2 separate regions of the Homo sapiens genome follow, and region 1 is linked to region 2. Evidence: promoter capture Hi-C in human tissues and cell types (Jung and others, 2019). All regions are on one chromosome and are shown on one strand. The core of a region is centred on a gene start or on the middle of the fragment in contact, and the rest is flanking DNA. Distances in the headings are between cores, read along the strand shown.

Region 1 (5,072 bases), core at 2,215-4,714, 250 kb before region 2:
AATCTGAGTGGGAGGATGGCTTCAGCCCAGGAATTCAAAGCTGCAGTGAGCTATGATCGTGCCACTGCACTCCAATGTGGGCAAGAGCAACACCCTGTCTTAAAACAAAACAAAACAACACTATTTTGTAATGTGAAAATTGTATAAACTTCAGGCCAGGCGCAGTGGCTTATGCCTATAATCCTGACACTTTGGGAGGCCAAGGCAGGTGAATCACTTGAGACCAGGAGTTCAAGATCAGCCTCCTGGGCAATATAGCGAAACCCCATCTCTACAAAAAATAAAATACAGCCGGGCTCATGCTTGTAATCCCAACACTTTGGGAGGCGTAGTGTGCACCTGTAGACCTGTAGTCCCAGCTACTTGGGGTGCTGAGGTGGTAGGATTGCTTGAGCCCGGGAGGTCGAGGCTGCAGTGAGCTGTGATTGCACCACCGTGCTCCAACCTGAGTAAAAGAGTTTCTGGGAACACAGATGGGCCTCTTGTTTACGTTGTCTGTGGCTGCCTTCGCACTGTGGTGGCATAGTTAAAATAGTTGCTAGAGAGACGGTATGGCCCACAAAGCTTCAATTATTTACTACCTGGTCCTTTACTGGAAAAATTTTCCCATTCTTGCTCTAGGGGGTTGAAGAAAGGTTTACGGGGACGTGAGTAGGAGAGTGTGGGTTTGGGGAATATTGGCGATTGGAATGAGACCTCAGGAATTATCCTAGAGGGACTCTGAATTTAGATTAGATCAGGAAGGCAGTTTAGTGAGAAGAGGGATCATTTTCCAACCTGCAGTACTGTTGGGTGTATGTCTATTTTCGAGGCCATTTCTTTCTGAAGGCTGGGGTTTGGGTATGGGTTCTCATTGAACAAGATGTTCAGATCTTCCAGTTGCTTCTTAGTGAACATGGTTCGTTTCCTGTGTGAATGCATCTGGTCCTTGCCTTGAAAGAGGAGGAAAAAGACACAAATGGGAAATGCTAACAACTCCATTCTCAAAAGCCTGAGCTTTCCTTTCCTTTCCACTGAGGTACAACGTGATGATCAAGTGACTGAGGTTCTGTCACCGAGGCTGGAGTGCAGTGGCACAATCTCAGCTCACTGCAACCTCCACCTCCTGAGTTCAAGCGATTCTCCTGCCTCAGCCTCCCGAGTAGCTGGGATTACAGGCGCACGCCACCATGCCCGGATAATTTTTGTATTTCTAGCAGAGACAGGGTTTCACCATGTTGGCTAGGCTGGTCTCGAACTCCTGACCTCAGGTGATCCACCCGCCTCGGCCTCCCAAAGTGTTGGGATTACATGCGTGAGCCACTGTGCCCGGCCGTGACTGAGGTTCTTAGATATGGAGACACTGCTGGCCGGGGTCGTGCCTCAGGCTGCAGTCCCAGTACTGTGGGAGGCTGAAGCGGGAGGACAACTTGATCTGCCTTTTGTCCTTGTTTTTCCAAGCCTCATTTGTCATTTTCATAGGAAAAGGTTGTTCCTTTCCCCCTTGGTTCCTCCATCCTTTTTTTCTGTTATCATTTAAATATGGGATCCCTTGCTCACGCCTGTAATCCCAGCACTTTGGGAGGCCAGGGCGGGCAGATCATATCAGGTCATGAGTTTGAGACCAGCCTGGCCAGCATGGTGAAACCCCATCTCTATTAAAAACACAAAAATTTGGCCGGGCACAGTGGCTCATGCCTGTAATCCCAGCACTTTGGGAGGCCAAGGCGGGCGGATCATGAGGTCAAGAGATCAAGACCATTCTGGCTAACATGGTGAAACCCTGTCTCTACTAAAAGTACAAAAATTAGCTGGGCGTGATGGTGCACGCCTGTAGTCCCAGCTACTCGGGAGGCTGAGGCAGGAGAATCGCTTGAACCTCAGAGGCAGAGGCTGTGGTGAGCCGAGATTATGCCACTGCACTCCAGCCTGAGACAGAGGGAGACCCTGTCTCAAGAAAATAATAAATAAATAAATAAATAAATACGTAAATAAGGGATCGCTTGTGCCTTACCTCTTGGGTTCTATTTTCTTTGTGTAGAAATAGGCAACTCAATCCAAGGTGAAATGGATGGACATGGTTTTATTCTTATCATTTATTCAATGTTCATTAAGTATATTCTTTTAGGAATATAGCAAGGAAATAAGCAGAAAAATAACATCACTGCTGTCACGGATGTCACCTTTTACTTTCTTTTTCTTGAGACAGTGTACTGCTGTGTTGCCCAGTGGCATGATCACAGCTCACTTCAGCCTCAACCTCCCCAGGCTCAAGCGATCCTCTCACCTCAGCCTCCCGAGTAGCTGGAACTACACAACACTGACATGCCCGGCTAATTTTTGTATTTTTTGTAGAGACAACGTCTTGTTTTGTTGCCCAGGCTGGTCTTGAACTCCTGGGCTGAAGCGATCTGCCCACCTCGGCCTCCCAAAGTGCTGGGATTACAGGCATGAGCCACCGCATGCCTCGCTCTAAAAGATCTGAATCGCATCATGCCTGAAAATGGTTTGGCAGCAGCTCCAGAGTCTAGTAAGTGCTCATGAACATGAGATTTCCAGCTTGGCTAAGCCTATATTCTATCTAGGACCTAATCATCCTCATAGGAATCAGATTCCCCTGTGCTCAAGAACAAGCATCGGGGTGGGAAGAATTAGGACACAACTACGAGGGAGAAGATTTCGGATTTGAAGGCAGAAACAGGCTTCCCTGCATTTGCCTGTGCTGTCAGATGACAGCCGCGGCCGGGCACCGAGGCTCATGCCTGTAATCCCAGCACTTTGGGAGGCCGAGGCCAGCCAATCACATGAGGTCAGGGGCTTGAGACCAACCTAGCTAACATGGTGAAACCCCATCTCTATAAAGATACAAAACTTGGGCCGGGTGCAGTGGCTCACGCCTGTCACCCCAGCACTTTGGGAGGCTGAGCCAGACGGATCACAAGGTCAGGAGTTCGAGACCAGCCTGGTCAATATGGTGAAACCCCCGGCTCTACTAAAAATACAAAAAAAAAAAAAATTAGCCAGGTGTGGTGGCGTGTGCCTGTCATCCCAGCTACTCGGGAGGCTGAGGCAGGAGAATTGCTTGAACCTGGGAGGTGGAGGTTGCAGTGAGCCGAAATCGTGCCACTGCACTCCAGCCTGAGCGACAGAGTGAGACTGTCTCAAAAGACAAACAAAACAAAACAAAACAACAACAACAAAAACGATGACAGCCTCTGTGGGAAGTCCCTGCCACCCACGTGGACGAAGCACCAGCTTCGGCCGCCTGGTCCCTCTGCCTTTTCCCGCCGCCAGCTGCTTTCCACTTCTTCACGTGTCTTTGCTTCGGTTCTCATTTTTTCTGGCTTACCTTTACGAAGATCCTCTGAGCCTGGCATCTTCTAATCCAGATGTGCGCCTGGGTTCAGGTCCAGGGATAAGAACTAGCAAAGATCAAATCCGGATTTAAGTAGCTTCCTCCACAGCCACACCCGACTCCCACCTCCTCCACCTTTCTCTGCCCTATCTGCCTCCAATATGATCCCTCGGTCCTCCAGAGCCCCCTGGATTTCTCCCAATACTGTCATTTTATCTAATATTGATTGAGCGGAGACCAACGACTCAAAGGCGAGTCCACAAACCAGCCCCACTAACACTCCTGGGAGTTGTTAAAATGCAGAATCCTGGCCCACTCCAGACTTCCTGAGCAGAAGCTGCAATTTCTTTTCTTTTTTTCTTTTTCTTTGAGACAGAGTCCCACTCTGTCACCCAGGCTGGAGCGCAATGACACCATCTTGGCTCACTGCAGCCTCTGCCTCCCAGGTTCAAGGGATTCTCATGTCTCAGCCTCCCGAGTAGCTGAGATCACAGGCCTGTGCCACCACTCCTGACTAATTTTTGTATTTTTAGTAGAGACGGAGTTTCCGCCATGTTGGCCAGGCTGGTCTTGAACTCCTGCCCTCAACGTTTCTGACTCGGTCTGGGGTGGGATCTGATGATTTCCATATCTAACAAGCACCCAGGTGACCAGGCTCCGTAATGGGGACCGGGAATGTGATTGTGAATAATGAAGTCCAGGTTTAAACCCTAAAGGGGCTTTCAGGCAACTTATATATTCTTTAGTGGCTAATATATGCTTGGCATTGTTCTGCATATCCTGATTTAGTTAACTCACTCAGAAATCATCTCATTTTATTTATTTATTTATTTATTTAGAGATGGAGTCTCACTCTGTCACCCAGGCTGGAGTGCAGTGGCACGATCTCGGCTCACAGCAACCTCCGCCTCTCAGGTTCAAGCAATTCTCCTGCCTCAGCCTTCCCAGTAGCTGGGATTACAGGCACCCACCACCAAGCCTGGCTAATTACAGGTGGCTCACACCTGTAATCCCAGCACTTTGGGAGGCTGAGGCAGGCGGATCACCTGAGGTCAGGAGTTCGAGACCAGCCTGGCCAACATGGCGAAACCCCATCTCTACTAAAAATACGAAAATTAGCTGGGTGTGGTGGTGGGCACCTGTAATCCCAGCTACTCAGGAGGCTGAGGCAGGAGAATTGCTTGAACCCAGGAGGCAGAGGTTGCAGTGAGCTGAGATCGCACCACTGCACTCCAGCCTGGGTGACAGGAGTGAGACTCCATCTCAAAAAAATAAAAGAAAAAGCTGCAACACCTTTCAGATGCCCAGGCTCACACCATGTATACCTTTTATCTTGACGACAAGGGCAGTTTGACTTCAGGTTCACAGAAGTGGCAGTTTTTCTTGCCATTCCATCCATTTGAATCTCAGTTCTGCACATCTCTACTTGTGACAGTGGTTAGCCTTTGCATAAATGAGCTTGTAGCTACTTTTTTTTTTCTTTTTGAGACAGGGTCTTGCTATGTCTCAAAAAACACAGCTGACTGCAGCCTCGACCTACTGGGCTCAAGTGATCCTCCTACATTTGCCCCCAAGTAGCTGTGACTACAAAGGCCTAGGCCCAGCCTGGAGTGCAGTGGCAAAATCATAGCTCAATGCAGCCTTAACCTCCTGGGCCTAGGTGAGCCTCTCACCTAAGCCTCCTGAGTAACTGGGACTACAGGTGCACACTACCATACCCAGCTAATTTTTGCATTTT
Region 2 (4,922 bases), core at 746-3,245:
ATTCTCCTATGACTTTCAAGGTTTGATTTGAATCTGAAAGCTTTATCACATTCTTCACATTTGTAAGGTTTCTCTCCAGCATGAGTTCGCCCGTGAACTGCAAGGTATGAACGATGTCTGAAAAATTTGTCACATTTATCACACTTGTAAGGTCTCTCTTTATTATGGATTCTCCAATGATTTGCAATAGTTGTAGCATTACTGAAGACGTGGTGACAATCATTACATTTGTAAAGTTTCCCTCTGCCATGGATTGCTTGATGGTAAATAAGCGCTGACTGCCTATGAAAGGTTTTGCCACACTCATTGCACTTCTAAGGTTTCTCTCCAGTATGACGTCTATGATGGCATGTGTTAACTCCTTACTGAAGGTCTTGCCACACTCATTACACTTATAAGATTTATTTCCAGTATGAAGTCTATGATGGCGTGTAAGGCATGACTTCTGACTGAAGGTCTTGCCACACTCATTACACTTGTACGGTTTCTCTCCATTATGAATTCTCCTATGTCTTTCAAGATTTGATTTGTATCTGAAAGTTTCATCACATTCTTCACATTTGTAAGGTTTCTCTCCAGTATGAAGTCTATGATGGCATGTAAGGGATGATGTATGACTGAAGGTCTTGCCACACCTATTACACCTGTAAGGTTTCTCACCAGTGTGAATTCTCCTATGTCTTTCAAGGTTTGATTTGAAACTGAAAGCTTCATCACATTCTTCACATTTGTAAGGTTTCTCTCCACTATGAAATTTATGATGGTATACAATGGATGACGTATGACTGAAGATCTTGCCACAATCATTACACTTATAACATTTCTCTCCAGTATGAATTTTCTGACGTATTTCAAGATTTTATTTGAAACTGTAAGCCTTGTCACATTCTCCACACTTGCAAGGTTTCTCTCCACTATGAAGTCTACAATGGCAGGTAAGGGATAACTCCTGACTGAAGGTCTTGCCACACTCATTACATTTGTACAGTTTCTCTCCATTATGAATTCTCCTATGTCTTTCAAGACTTGATTTGAAACGGAAAGCTTCATCACATTCTTCACACTTGTAAGGTTTCTCTCCAGTATGAAGTCTACGATGGCATGTAAGGGTTGACATATGACTGAAGGTCTTGCCACAATCATTACACTTGTATGGTTTCTCTCCAGTATGAGTTATCCTATGACTTTCAAGGTTTGATTTGAAACTGAAAGCTTTGTCACATTCTTCACATTCGTAAGGTTTCTTTCCAGTATGAATGCTACGATGGCATGCAAGGTATGACTTCTGACTAAAGGTCTTGCCACACTCATTACACTTATGTGGTTTCTCTCCAGTATGAATTCTCCTATGTCTTTGAAGGGCTGAATTGTGTCTGAAAGCTTTGTCACATTCTTCACATTTGTAAGGTTTCTCTCCAGTATGAAGTCGATGATGATATGTAAGGGATGACATCTGACTGAAGGACTTGCCACACTCATTACACTTGTAAGGTTTCTCACCAGTGTGACATCTACGATGGCGTGCAAGGTATCGCTTCCGAATAAAGACCTTGTCACATACATCACATTTATATTGTTTCTCTCCTAGATGAATAATCTGATGTTTCCTTAAGAGTGAGCTATAATTAAAGGCTTTGCCACTCTCAATACATTGGAAAGATTTTTCTCTCATGCGTACTTCCTGTCTTTGTGTGAGTAATGAATAATTCAGAAAATTATCCCCATAGTTATTAGATATATGGGTTTTGGGCCTACAAGAAATTCTTTGGGCTGTTGAAACCGAGGAAGCATCGTTGATAGACTTCTCCACTTGATTATTAATTTTCCCTTTGGGCTGAAATATGTGGAGTTCAGACAGATGTGAATGAAAGCTTGATCCAAGCTGATATTTAATAGGCTTGTTTCCAGCATGCCTGTGATCATATTGCTCTGTACTACCCATCAATTTTTTGATTTTTGTCATGGGTGCTTCATGGCCATTTCTTTCATCTTCTTGCCACTGAAACTCAAAGTTATGAATATCTTTCTCAATTTCCTGGAAGGAAAAATCTCCAATGTGATGACGTTCATGTCTTTGCAATGTCCCTGTGTGGATCACTTCTGTATTGCCTTGTGCTGTTGATGAGAACTCCTTCATTGTGCATTTGGAAGAGATACCTACAAAATATAAACACTAATAGGTACACAAAAGACAATACTGATTTTAAACTTCCCAAACATGATCTTCAAAGTTTAGGAACACAAAATCGTAAGATTCTTTAATAAATAAAGGGCGATTACATGTGCTTCAAATTATTATTATGAAAGCTTATTTCCAATATCATGACAAAACACTGAAGGGCACAAACATGTGTAAGCCTAAAATAAGGAGTATTTTTCCACTGTGACCCTAAAGTGTCTAACAGTTTGCAAAAGACATATCACTGTCACATCAATGAAAAGTATATATTCTTCATATTTACAGCATACTTACTGTATACAAATAAATACTAAAGGACCACACAATATAATATACTGGTAAATAATCCACAGCAAGCTCATGTAAGGATAACCAAAATCAATGGAAATTCTGTATTGTTAAATAATCATAGCACTGAGAAGATAAGAAAAGTTTACAAAATTTAGCAAGGCATGGTGGTGCACGTCTGTACTCCCAGCTACTCGCAAGGGTGAGGTACAAGAATTGCTTGAACCCAAGAGGCAGAGGTTGCAGTGAGCCGAGATCGCACCACTGTACTTCAGCCTGGATGACAAAGTGAGACTCCATCTCAAAAAAAAAAAAATATTTTTCTGAATAACTGTCATAAAATTACCTATATCCATGCAGAAAAGGCATATTGTAACATTTAAAATTTTTTTTTTATTTTTGTATTTTTGAGACAATGTTTCACTGTGTCACAACAGGCTGGAGGGCAATGGCCTGATCTCAGCTCACTGCAACCTCCACCTTTTGGGTTCAAGCCATTCTCCTGCCTCAGCCTCCTGAGTACATGGGATTACAGGCACATGCCAGCATGCTTGGCTAATTTTTGTATTTTTAGTAGAGATAGGGTTACATCATATTGGCCAGGCTGGCCTTGAACTTTTGACCTCAAGTGATCCACCCGCCTCAGCCTCCCAAAGTCCTGGGATTGCAGGCGTGAGCCACAGCACCCGCTGGCACTTTGTGACATTAACTAGTAAACTGTGTCAGTTATATTGCATACCACATACCGAAAAGCTTTATGTAAAATCATAAAAATGAATTGGTAAAATAACTGTAACGCATAAAACCAGCAAGCAAATCATAAGTACATTTATACAAACTGCAGAATTCTAAACAATTCCCTGTTAAGAAAAAAGCACAACTTCTACTTACCACCAGCACACAATATAAGAACTGAAATACATGTTAAGATCACTACCTTCTGATGTATGAGGTCAAAAAAATATGCAGCATTATAATGAATAAGAATTCACTAACAGCCGGGTGCAGTGGCTCATGCCTGTAATTCCAGCACTTTGGGAGGCCGAGGTGGGAAGACCATGAGGTCAGGAGTTCAAGAATAGCCTGGCCAACGTGGTGAAACCATAACTCTACTAAAAATACAAAAAAATTAGCTGGGTGTGGTGGCGGGTGCCTGTAATCTCAGCTACTCAGAAGGCTGAGGCAAGAGAATCGTTTGAACCCAGGAGGTAGAGTTTGTGGTGAGCCAAGGTCCCACCACTGCACTCCAGCTTGAGTGACAGGGTGAGACTTCGTCTCTAAGAAAAAAAAAAAGAATTGACTAATAGTGCCGGAGGGTGCAATTATGATGTCACAACTACATTTATGAAACAGCCAGGCAATACAGCAATTCTATATATATATATACATTGCCCTATGTATCTAGTTCACTATGCATAAAATATAAAACATAGAATGTGTACTGGGAAAATTTATAAACTGAGATCAGAGAAAACATTGTATGAAACAAATTAAACAATAAAAACATAAATAAGATGATGCAGGCTCCCTGGTCTGAATGTTTGTATTGGCCAAACGCCATGTTCAGAGTTCTTATTCTCCAATAGGATGTTCCTGCAGATGGGGCCTTTGAGACAATTTGGTCACGGGTGTTGACTACTCGTGAATAGGACTTGTGCTTTCATAAAAAGAGACATTAAAGAGCTCGTTGCCTGTTCCTGTTTCCACCATGTCAGGACATGGCAGGAAGATGGCTGGGCTAAACCATGAGGAAGGCTCTCACCAGGAACCAATGTGGCTGGCACCTTGCTCTTGGATTTCCCACTTTCCAAACTCATGAGAAATAAATTTCTGTGTCTTAAGCCTCCCAGTTTAAGCTATTTCTTTTTTTGTTTGTTTTTGAGACCGAGTCACGCTCTATCACCCAGGCTGGAGTGTAGTGGCACGATTCTCCTGCCTCAAGAGATTCTCCCGCCTCAGCCTGTAGTCTCACTTTGGTGCCCAGACTGGAGTGCAGTGGTGTAACCTTGGCTCACTACAACCTCCACCTCCCGGGTTCAAGATTCTCCTTCCTCAGCCTCTCGAGTACTTGGGATAACAGCCATGTGCCACCACGCCCAGCTAATTCTTGTATTTTTAGTAGAGACAGGGTTTCACCATGTTGGTCAGGCTGGTCTCAAATTCCTTAACTCAGGTGATCCGCCCCTCTCGGCCTCCCAAAGTGCTGGGATTACAGGCTTGAGCCACTACACCTAGCCAATTTCTTGTATTTAGTAGATTCGAGGTTTCACCATGTTGGCCAGACTGGTCTCAAACTCCTGACTTCAAGCTATCTGCCCACCTCAGCATCCCAAACTGCTGGGATTAAGGCATGACCCACCTCAGCTGGCCAGTCTAAGCTATTTCTGACAGGACAGTGAAATGACTGAGACAGGAAAAGAAGCATCTCATGATTCACATCACTGAAGGCTGACAA

The links. The method cuts DNA at HindIII sites, captures the fragments that hold promoters and counts their contacts. A contact is called where the count stands out against the background at its distance.
Region 1: a contact is called between the fragment with the promoter of DPRX here and a fragment that was not itself captured in region 2, in 4 of the 25 tissues and cell types used here (dorsolateral prefrontal cortex, heart left ventricle, mesenchymal stem cells and 1 more).

The regions. Positions count from the first base shown.
Region 1 is chr19:53,630,391-53,635,462 of GRCh38, reverse strand. DPRX (divergent-paired related homeobox) reads right to left here and starts at 3,464. Exons shown (of 3, transcript NM_001012728.2): 1 at 3,329-3,464; 2 at 778-932. The coding sequence starts at 3,356. The HindIII fragment of the contact is 20,441 bases long and covers 1-5,072 here.
Region 2 is chr19:53,377,957-53,382,878 of GRCh38, reverse strand. It overlaps ZNF525 (zinc finger protein 525), which reads right to left. Exons shown (of 4, transcript NM_001348156.2): 4 at 1-2,157. The coding sequence ends at 860. Among named protein-coding and RNA genes, the nearest start is that of ZNF525, 15 kb to the right of the region's middle. The HindIII fragment of the contact is 5,110 bases long and covers 1-4,550 here.